2 separate regions of the Homo sapiens genome follow, and region 2 is linked to region 1. Evidence: promoter capture Hi-C in human tissues and cell types (Jung and others, 2019). All regions are on one chromosome and are shown on one strand. Each heading gives the region's core, a stretch centred on a gene start or on the middle of the fragment in contact. The rest is flanking DNA. Distances are from core to core; before and after follow the strand shown. Region 1 holds the start of GHR (growth hormone receptor). Region 2 overlaps GHR (growth hormone receptor).

Region 1 (5,708 bases), core at 1-2,500:
AGTTCTGTCAAAACTTTAAGCCTGGTTGATTTTACAACCACTAGTGTGTCAAAAGCTGGGGGAGGTCGGCTCGCCACAATTTCCACTTACCCCAGTTCATGCGGACTGGTGGCTGTCACTCTACTGACCCCAGTTCCATCGGTGCCAACGTGCGGCTGCGGCCCGCACAAACGCGCAAAAGACCGCGCGCTCTGCGCGCTGTGTCCACGCGCACAGCTCGACCTCCCCAGTCTCTCCAGTCGCGCTGCCGGGGATTCTTCCCCGCGCAACAGCAGCAGCCTCGGCAGTTCCTGCCGCAGCCAGGCAGATGATGGCAAACAGAAACACACTAGCAAAACTTTTATGACTTTAACAAAACTGTCTCCGGAGTAAACCCCTCCACGTACACTACTCGCGGGCCAGAGCAGACGCCAGAGTGTGATGGTTCGTCTGTCGCCCGCAACTCCCTGCCGCCCTCACCAACTTCCAGACACACACACACACACACACACACACACACACACACACACACACACACTAGATTGGGTTACAACAACCCACCAGCAGAAAACAACTTCTTCGCAAGGAGGAGGGGAGCACAGCCAAGTCATCCGGAATAAAAAATTATCCGTGTAAATATATAAGACAGATCCTCCCGTTTTCATAAACAACTAGAGTCCCAGGGTTCACCCTCAGGCCCCCTGGCACAACAGGAGGAAAATAAAGCCAGACTCCCGGAGCCCCACTCCAGTACCTCCGAGCTTCGCCTCTGATCAGAGAGCGCGGGTTCGCGTCTGCGCTGGGGCCAATGGTGCCGGGGCCTCCGGCCCGCGTGGCCCCAGCCCGGGGTCCCCGCCGCCGCCCGGGCTCAGCAGCAGCCGCCGCCGCCACCGCCACTGTAGCAGCTGCTGCTGCCGCTGCCGCCGCCGCCGCCGCTCCCTAGCCCTCCTCCTCTTCCCATGGCTGCGCCCTGCTTGGCAGCTCGCGGGCTGTCAGGCTTGGGGAGGAGAGAGGGGGCGGGGTGAAACGGGAAGGGAGGATGGGAGGGCAGGGGTGGGAAAAGGCGGCCACCGTTCACCAGGGGTCACGCCGCGCCTGGCCCGCAGTCCCCCAGATCCAGGTTGCAGAAGCGAAGGCGAAGCGGACGTTCAAGGAGGCCAGTTCGAGAACTGCTGCGGAGAGGCCGAGTGCCGCCCGGGCCAAGCATTCCGAGTTGCTGGGATGAAGTCTTCCCGGCGAGGAGCTGGAGTTGGTGCGTGTCACTCTCAACTGAGCTGCGCGGCTCCTCCTAGAGGAAAATATTGGTAGTTGCAATACACTTCCTTCCTCTCCGCCTGCCCGTTCCAAATGAAAGCAGGACCTACAAGAGCGTTAAGTGCAGTCCACAGACTCAAAGAAACACTTACAAAAAGGTTAGCTATCTCCAGGAATGAGAGGAAGATCAGCGAGATACCTTGGAAAGCGTGTTTAGCCATCCAAATATTGCCTTTCCATCAACAATCAAGTTCCAAACTCCTGCTCACTGGGGCACAGTGAAAAGATAGTTAAAACTACGAAGGACTTTATTGTGGAGGTTAGAAGACGGAGACAGAGAGAATGAGTAATTTACCAAGGACACTCAGCATGTTAGCAGAGAGGTATCTGCTAGAGGACAGGGATGCAGGGAGAGCAGACACAGGCCCCAGCCTGAAGTTCCTGAGCCAGGAAAAGGGTTTTAACTCTGCCTCACGCTGGACATAGCTCATCTGTCAAATGCGAGCCCTGCCTACTTCATTCACAAGAAGTTGTAAAAGTGTTGCAGAAAGTTAAAGTTGTGCATAAGCATGTCATTTTTGTACAGCATCAAACCCCAAGTCACTATATGCTTTTCTGAGTAGAGAGTACAAAAATCTAGCTCCAGGTTGTCTCAGATCTGAAGGAGTAGCTAGTCATGCAATCTTTCCACTATTTACTGACGGTCAATTGTAATGTCACTTACTTATAAGCTTCTAACAGCTTTGGCTTACTAAAGACTTTTTTTTTTTAACAGAGCTCCCAGACACAAACCCAAGTTTATACCCAGAAAGAAATGTTTAAACAACTTAAAGGAACCAAGTTTCTTTTCTTTAGAATAAAATATCTATAGGGCTTTGAAGTAGTACACGGGAGCCAAGACTTGAGAAGGAACAGAGGACCAAAGACTCTGGGATAGCAGATATCACATAAGATACCCCTATTTTCAAAGGAATCAGATAAGTGAAAAACTGTTCCTTAGAATGCTTTCAGAAGCTCAGCTGTGGCTCAAATACCCCAGCTGTTCCAGACAGACACCTAGAATGAACGAAAAAGGAAAGATTCTGGAAGGGGCGTGTTTTATCATGGGGTGGGATGGTTATTGATCCTGAACTGCTCTTGTTCTATGGCATCTAAAAATAAGGAGGCATTTAGTTCCCCTAAGACTCTTCCCCAAACCATTGATTTCTGGGGCTTCATACTTTGCTGGAGCAATAGTGGTGCTTGGCTGTGTCTGGAGCTTTTAAAAGGGGAGGTACCCATATAGAGAAACTTGGGAAAGTAAAAGATTAGGGCACAGTCAAGAAAAACTCCTGCTGGGTGGTCCATACCTGCCAAGCTGGCTGACAGGGTAGTCCTGGCAGGAGTAGAGACCAGACAGGCCTCAAATGCTGACTCCACGCCTGTCTGAAATGACCTTCCAAGTTGGACCTTCTTCAGAGCCTGGCACTACCAACCTCTCTGTTTATATCCTCTCTGTGCCTTCTCATCCTTTGCCCTTCTTCCCTGAGCTAGAGAATCTTGATCTAGTTTAGGAGGTGCCAGACGGAGTCATAAAAGATATTCTAAATTCTATTGTTTATGCTCTGAGATGAGCTCAGGGCCATACTTAAAAAAATAAGAATTGACTTCTTTTTTTTTTTAAATCTGGGTTCAGCAATATCCTCCATTCTGTGTGCCATGAAACTAGACTACTCTGGCTGCTGCTCTGTCTTTGATTTTTAAAAAGTCATCATGCACAGAAAACATAGGAAAAGACACCTCAGTTAATACTATAGAACTAGATATAAACCTGCAACTGACATGAAGGGCAGTCTTTATTTTTAAGCCTCGTAAGTAAAGGTCCTTCAATCTCATATATGACCAGGTATTGGTCCATAGTAGTATGTGCCTCTTTATATATTCCAAATTGTGAGGGAAAATGTAGCAGGTATTGAGTTGATTAATTTGTTATAAGTTAAGGCATGCCAGAGCACATTTACCTTCTGAAGAATGAAACTGCATTTGCTCATGGTTTCCACTCTGCTTGGAAGATCCTACTTTGTCCACCCAGAGAAATCCTTCTTAATCTTAAAGTTCCAATCAATTGTTTACTTTCTCTCTGAAGGTCTTCCTGACTATTCCCCAGGGTGGAATTAATTAATTCTCCCTGTATCAGCACCTTTATAGGCCTTTATATCTTCTTTTATTAAATATTGCAGTTTTGTTGACATGTCTGCTTTTCTCATTAATTAAGAGATTTCTGAGGGAGAAACTATATATTCTTAATATCTGTACCTGCAATGTCTAGGTTAGTGCCCAGTATTTACAGAGTTTATAAAGCGTCCAATAAATAATCAAATTGAATGAAAAGTTGTATCTCTTGGATTTATATCTCTAACCCAGATCTCTCCACAGAGCTCCAGGCTAACAACTGGGTATCTCCATTTGGATGTCTAACAGACCTCTGAAACTTGACATGTCCACATCTGAACTCTGGTTCTTTCTCCTTAAACATACTCCAATCACAGTGGGTGACATTTCCATCTCAGTAGATGGCAACTACTTCCTGCCAGTTACCCAGGCCACAAACCTTTGAAATCATCCTTACTTCTTCTCTGCCAATCACATTCCACATTCAAAACTCTGTCTATTTTCTTGGAGAGGTCCAGAGACACCTGGTCTGAACCACCAGAATTTCTCAGATTACTGCAGTAGTCTCTCAACTCAACTGGTCTGCTTGCTTTGACAAACCCCACCCCTAATCCCCAACCAACACCAACAACAACCCAAAGTATAAATTCAGTTGCCATAGTCATTCCTTTTAAAATTAATATCATGTCATTCCTCAGCTCAAAACCCTCCAATGGTTCCCCATTCAAATCAGAATAAAATTCAAAATGGCCCATGAGACCCTACGTGAGCTATGTACCTTTGCCCCACACCTCATCTCCCATGAATTTCCCCATCACTGGGTCATCCATTCTGCTCCCAGCACACCGGCCTCCCTGCTGTTTCTTAAGCAGGCCAGGCAGACTCCTAACTTGAAGGCTTTTTGCTGGCTTTTCTCTCTGATTTAAACACACTTCCACAAATATTCATTTGCTTCCTCCTACAGTTCCTTGAAGTCTTTACTCAGATATTGGCTAACTTATCTTGTCCAACCTATTTTACCTTATTATGGCCTTACCTTATTATGGCCCACCCTTCCCCAGTCTTTTATACATCCCCAGTAGGGCTTAGCAAAAAATATAAACTGCCTTGAAGACAATAGAAACAATTAGAAAATAATTCTGATTATATATATTCAAGTGCAGATATCTAGGTCAGATCGCCATCTCCCCAAACCATAAAACACCACAGTATAAACTTCCTAAATCTACAGTTATCTGAGGTTAGAGCATGGCTTTAGTCACTCTGTTGTACTATAAAATGCCAAAGCTTCTTCTCAAAACAAAACAAAAGAGGCCAAAACACTTAAAGTAGCATTTTATAGCTGTTTTGTTTTATAGCATTTGTAGTTGAAGAACATAGGATTGTTAGTCAGGAGCCTTGGGATCCTGTGTGGGTCCTCTGTGATTTTGGGTAAATTAGTTACTAATCTCACAATGACTCCATTTCTTGGCCTATAGAAGGAAGGGGTTGCTCTCTGAGATCATTCAGCTGTAAAATAAAGTATTAGATTGATATTTGTAAATCAAATTATGATATCAAACATTTGTGATAAATTCTAAATTTATTTGAATAATATTTGACCAAATGTCCGGGTACCATGCCCTAGCAAAGTTGACACATTGAGATGGTTAATTTTATGTGTCAATTTTGCTAGACCATGGTACCCAGATATTTGGTCAAATATTATTTTAGATTTTTTTGGCAAAGGCATTTTTATGGTAAGATTAACATTTAAATCAATAGACTTTGAGTAAATCATATTGCTCTACATAATGTAGGTGGGCCTCAATCGATCAGTTGAAGGCATTAAGAGAAAAAAACTGACCTATCCCAAAGAAGAGAAAATTCTGTCAGCAGGCAGCCTTTGGATTCAAACTGCATATCAACTATTCCCTAAATCTGTAACCAATTTACCCTGTAGATTTTTGACTTTTCAGTTTTCACAATTATGTGAGCAAATTTCTCAAAATAAGTCTCTGTATATATATCTCATGAATATGACATATATATATATATATATATCTCATGAATATGACATATATATATATATATATCTCCCTGATTAATACAATATTTACTGGTAAAATTAATAAGATTCTAATAAAATATTATCCCTTTAATGAATTTTTTTTAAACTAACACTGAATTCCCATTCACCATGTTCTTTCATTCATACAAATGTTGGTGAGCCTACACTATGACAGACTTCGTTCTAAAAACTTAGCATGCATCAGGGAACAAAATTTATACCACATATCTACAAAGATGCTGCCCTCATGGGGCTTGCATTCTAGTTAGGAGAG
Region 2 (5,708 bases), core at 1,285-3,784, 43 kb before region 1:
GGAAGGCTTCAGCTGCCTGGTCACCAACCGATTCGACCAGTTATTTGACAACTAATCGGACCCCTTCGAGGTGCTGAAGGCAGGAGAGAACAAGAAAAAAGAAGCTGGCGGGGGCGGCGTCTCTGGGGCCAAGAGCGGCAGCTCAGGCTGCGACCCAGACCAACTCCAAGGCGGCAGGCAAATAGCTAGCTGCGCAAGGAGTCCCAGAAAGACAGCAAGAACCCGCTGCCCTCCAGCGTTGGCGTGGTTGACAGGAAAGAGGAGACGCAGCCGTCCATGGTGCTTAAGAAAGAAGGAATAAGGGTCATTGTTCTCGTGCCAGTAGGAGCTGAGGTCCTGGTCCCCCAGCCTCCTGCTGCAGAGCCAGTGAACTCTGGTCGGGCCTCTCAGCTGCGCACGTAGGCAATACTCATCTTGGCCCTGGGAGGAAACTCAAGAAGAAGCTTTTGAAACATAAAGCTTAGATGGGGTTTGACCTGTGCTGGGCAGCTCCCAGCTATAGGCGTTCCCCTGCTGAGCAGAGAAGATGACTGCAGAATTGAGAGAAGCCATGGCCCTAGGCCCATGCCGCCCAGTGAAGGTGAAAAAGGAGGAGGAGGAAGAAGAAAACTTCCCAGATCAGGCATCCAGCCAACAAGTGCACTCTGAGAACATCAAAGTCTGGGCCCCAGGGGAGTTTCGTCAGACAGGCCTTGATGGATCAGAAGAGGAAGAAAAGGTGCTGAAACCAAGAACCTTCAGTTACTGGTTCCAAAAACTGAGATACGTGAGGAAGCTGAAAACCCCCGCATCATATTAGGAAGAATCCAGAAAGCTGATCCTTAAGGACCTGAGTTAAGAGAGGCTTGTGAAAAAGAAAACATGTTAAAGAGGCAGAGAATAAGGAGGGAAAGGAAAGATTTCAGATAAGTCATAGTGAATGACTGTCACTTACCTGAAAGCTTCAAAGAAGAGGAAGACCAGAAATGTAAGAAATCTGTGGGAAAATACAGCCTTAATTCTGACACTGTTAACAATCCGAAAACCCAGCTTGGGCGAAAGTCTTTTACATTGTAGCATGTGTGGGAAAGGATTTAGTCAGAGTGCAAACCTCGTTGTGCATCAGAGAATCCACACCGGGGAGAAACCTTTTGAATGTCATGAGTGTGGGAAGGCCTTCATTCAGAGTGCAAAGCTCGATGTGCATCAGAGAATCCACACTGGACAGAAACCTTATGTTTGCTCAAAATGTGGGAAAGCCTTCAATCAGAGTTCAAATCTGACTGTATATCAAAAAAACCTCTCCTTAGAAAAAACCTTTAGGCGTAGTAAATGTGAGAAAGCCTTTAGTTATAGCTCACAACTTGCTCGGCACCAGAAACTCCACATTACAGAAAAATGCTGTAAATGTAATGAGTGTCGGAAAACATTTACTGGGAGCTCAAACCATATTGTCCACCAGAGGATCCACACTGGGGAGAAGCCCTCTGCCTGTAACGATTCTGGCAAAGCCTTTACGCAGATTGCAAATCTTATTGTACATCAGCGAAGCCATACTGGTGAGAAGCCATATGAGTGTGAGTTTGGGAAAACCTTTAGTTGTTTTTCACACCTTATTATGTACCAGATAATTCACACTGCAGAGAAACCTTATGACTGCAGTGAATGTGGGCAAGCCTTCAGTCAGCTCTCTTGCCTTTTTGTCCACCAGAGAATTCACAGTGGAGATCTTCCTTTTGTGTGTAATGAATGTGGGAAGGCCTTCACATGTAGCTCATACCTACTTATTCATCAGAGAATCCATAATGGAGAAAAACCTTACATGTGTAATGAGTGTGGGAAGGCCTTCAGACAGAGGTTGAGCCTCACGGTGCACCAGAGAACCCACACTGGGGAGAAGCCCTATGAATATAAGAAGTGTGGTGCAGCTTTCATTTCCAACTCACACCTCATGCGACACCACAGAACCCATCTTGTTGAACAACAAGTAAGGAAGAGGAAGACTTCCAGCATTGGTCATAACCTTCTGCCTCCCAAATGAGACACCTCTTTGCTGTTTTCTTCTTCCTTTATAAAGATGAGGCCTATGTCCTTAAAAGTTACAGTTTTCAGGAATGCAGCACAAAACACAAGATAAACATTTCAGCAGTTAATTTAAAGAAAACAGAAAGTAAGCACCTGAAGGCAACGACTTTGTTTTAACTGTACCTTAAGTGGTCATGTTTTCTGAAATGGAATGTAGCTTTCTTAGGAATGGGTCATACAAAGTAATGATTGTATTTGGGGAAAGGTCTTTTTTGCTTAATTTTGTTTTTAAAAACTCTGATGATTGCTTGAGCAATAGGCAGGTTATCTGCCTGGTTGAATTCTGGTTGAACCGTGTATTCTAGTATTTCTGGTTAAGTGGTGACTAGGTAAGGAAACCACTTGGGGTAGCAATTCAACAATTCACTTATGAATGTTTATAAGCTTTCCATTTTCTAAGTAATTTTTTAAAAGCTAGTCAAAAGAAAAAACCTTAACTGTCTACTGTACCAAAAATGGACAGAAACAGGAAATGGCCTTTTTCCTTACTGTCTATACCCCCTGAACCTTGATATTGTAGATATTGTAAAGCTCTGGAGACCTCTGTTGAGTCTGTTCTGACCATTCCCTAGTGTGCATGGCCAAGCCCTCAAGGATTGATGGACACCACACGCCAGCTATAGTCATTTGTTAAGATTGACAACTCCTCCTCCACACAACTCAAGCTCCCAATTCCCATTGCATTCCATTTGGGTAAGATGCAACCAACAGCCCCCTTCCTGGATAGAGGAATCAAAGAATAAAGCTTGCCTAGAGGAAAAATAAAAAACACAAAAAGAAGAAGGAATAAGACAAGTTGGAAGAAGACCTGCTCAACAACTTCACGGTGAAGGGAAAATAACTGATAGAAGACCAGAAAGGAGACCACCTTGTGAACGAAGACTTGAAAAGCCACTTGATGAAAGGGGTGAAGGAGGCGAATTTTCAGTTGATAGACTGATTATTGACCGACCTATTCAAGGTCATGGTGGTCTTGGAAGAGGTCGAGAGGGCAGTGGACGTGAAATGGGCCAAGGAGATGGATTTGATTCTCGTGGCAAACGTGAATTTGATAGGTATAGTGGAAGTGATAGATCTTTTTTTTCACATTACAGTGGCCTGAAGCACGAGGACCTGTAACGTGGAGGTAGCAGATCTCACAACTGGGGAATTGTCAAAGATGAATTAACAGAGTCCCCCAAATACATTCAGAAACAAATATCTTATAATTGCAGTGACTTGGATCAATCAAATGTGACTGAGGAAACACCTGAAGGTGAAGAACATCATCCAGTGGCAGACACTGAAAATAAGGAGAATGAAGTTGAAGAGGTAAAAGAGGAGGGTCCAAAAGAGATGACTTTGGATGAGTGGAAGGCTATTCAAAATAAGGACTGGGCAAAAGTAGAAACCTCTTCAATCCCTTTATACCCTTAACCTAACTTTCTCTTACTGGTGGGTAATAACTGAAAATAAAGATTTATTTTCATGCAAAAAAAAAATCTGTTCTTCAAGATCATCACATTCAGTATAAGAAAATCAAATTCTTTCTGTCCAAATGTACTGTTCTGGCTTTGTCAACTTGACAGCAGCCTCTGCGCCCAGCTATTCTACTTGTCAACTCTTGACTCAGATACTTGTTCCAAACCATGGGACCCCTCTGCTTTTCATTAAAGATTATTATAACTAACTTAGACAAAAGGAACCGGACTTTGTCACACAGCACCAGAAATCCCAGCACTTTACAGAATAATCATTCTTTATCTTTAAGATGTTCACAGAGTTGCTCAATTGACAATAGGAAACAAACTTTTTCTCAAAAGAGAATCTCTTCCTTTTTTATTTCTTCATGATTTGCCCCAAAATAAATATATTCCAGTGCACCATTTAAACAGTTTAATTCATCCATTTGTGTTACTATGCCCTAGTTACTTCTAACCTGGAAAGAGGGTCACATTCCCTTCCTTTCTTTGTAGTGGAGAAGTCAGAAGATACTCATAATGATAGACATTAGTAAGTGCATCCTGTGTGTGTGCACACACAGCCATTCATAATTTAGATTATTAGTTCTGCCAGGGACTCTAGGGATGTCCTAGGGTTAAAGATGGCCTAGTTAAACTCTCTTCAATCTCTTTATACCCTTAACAAAACTAAGATAACATGGCAGAGACTTCCTTGGTTCTTTTCCTTCTTCCAGTCACTCAGCACACACCTGCAGAATGGATTCATGACCCTCCTACTTTTCCTCTGCTCCACACTTGCCTGTTTCTTCTCTCTTTCCTCTTGACTTGGTCCACTCTCTTTCTGAGCTTCCTTCTTTCCCATAATCTACCATCTTCCAGAGAGCTCATTCACACCGTGCATCCATGCATTGCATGTATGTGTTTCTGATGGCATGACCCCACTGCCAATTCTCCAAAATTTCAAAAGTAAAATAAACAAACTTACAACTTTCTGCTTCAGATAAAGCAAAAGGACACTTTCATTTAGAACACAAAGAGAGAAAACTAATTTTTGAGTCAGAAAGTAAGCTCCCATTCACCATGGGAGCTTCGCATTGAGAGCAGTTCATGTACATCGTAAATGTTCAATAAACACATCCACTTGCAGATAGCTGAGGAGCTCTGAGTCAGCAGCAGGTAGTAAGTAGATAATGAAAGCAAACTAAATTAGAAGTCAGAAGACTGAGCATCTAGTACCAGCTCTGACTGAATCAAGTTATGTGACTCTGAGCACTTTTTTTTTTTTTTTGGTAATATCAACAAGGTAACACTAAATTATTTCTTTTTCTTTTTTTTTTTTTTTTTTTTTTTTGAGACGGAGTCTCGCTCTGTCGCCCAGGCTGGAGTGCAGTGGCGGGATCTCGGCTCACTGCAAGCTCCGCCTCTCGGGTTCACGCCATTCTCCTGCCTCAGCCTCCCAAGTAGCTGGGACTACAGGCGCCCACCACTACGCCCGGCTAATTTTTTGTATTTTTAGTAGAGACGGGGTTTCACCGTTTTAGCCGGGATGGTCTCGATCTCCTGACCTCGTGATCCACCCGCCTCGGCCTCCCAAAGTGCTGGGATTACAGGCGTGAGCCACCGCGCCCGGCCCACTAAATTATTTCTAAGGTATTTTCCGTTTTGAAAATCCAATGGTGATAAAACATGAATTACAGCTAAAGATTAAAAGGCCTTCAAAGAGGTTTATAGTCCAACCACTACCACTCCCTTTATTTCATATTTCCAGAAAGATGACTATTTGTCCCATTTGAAAATTTTCCAGGAAAACATTTGATTTTCCCATTGTCATCTGCACGCAAATTTTAGTACAAAAAAATAGTTCTCAGATTTAACCCAAAATCCATGTCTATGTTTATACTGCTGCTAATCAATTCAGGACTTAAATATCTAATTATAAAATTTCACAACCCTCATAATCTTGGGATGTAATTTTATTTTCAATGCAAGTATTAAAAGATATGGCCAACAAGGCATAAAAACATTTTCCCTGAAGTCGTATCATTGACTAAATCATGGAGCTTGTCTATTCAGCTTCTCTCTCAATATACATTTATAGCAGGACATGATTAGTTTTCACCTAAGAAAACTCTGCTTATTAAATTATATTTCATTCACCAGGACTCCTTATTTATCTCAGTAATATTTAATGGAAAAGTAAAT

The links. The method cuts DNA at HindIII sites, captures the fragments that hold promoters and counts their contacts. A contact is called where the count stands out against the background at its distance.
Region 2: a contact is called between a fragment that was not itself captured here and the fragment with the promoter of GHR in region 1, in 1 of the 25 tissues and cell types used here (aorta).

Annotation. Positions count from the first base shown.
Region 1 is chr5:42,418,981-42,424,688 of GRCh38, reverse strand. GHR (growth hormone receptor) reads right to left here and starts at 1,250. Exons shown (of 10, transcript NM_000163.5): 1 at 734-1,250. RefSeq lists promoters at 1-45, 210-557, 210-978, 1,176-1,276, 886-1,458 and 1 more, cis regulatory regions at 1,081-1,121, 1,459-1,967 and an enhancer at 1,105-1,254. The HindIII fragment of the contact is 10,174 bases long and covers 1-3,318 here.
Region 2 is chr5:42,463,142-42,468,849 of GRCh38, reverse strand. All of the region lies in intron 1 of GHR (growth hormone receptor), which reads right to left. It also overlaps the pseudogene SERBP1P6 and the pseudogene LOC100419545. Among named protein-coding and RNA genes, the nearest start is that of GHR, 43 kb to the right of the region's middle. The HindIII fragment of the contact is 3,667 bases long and covers 701-4,367 here.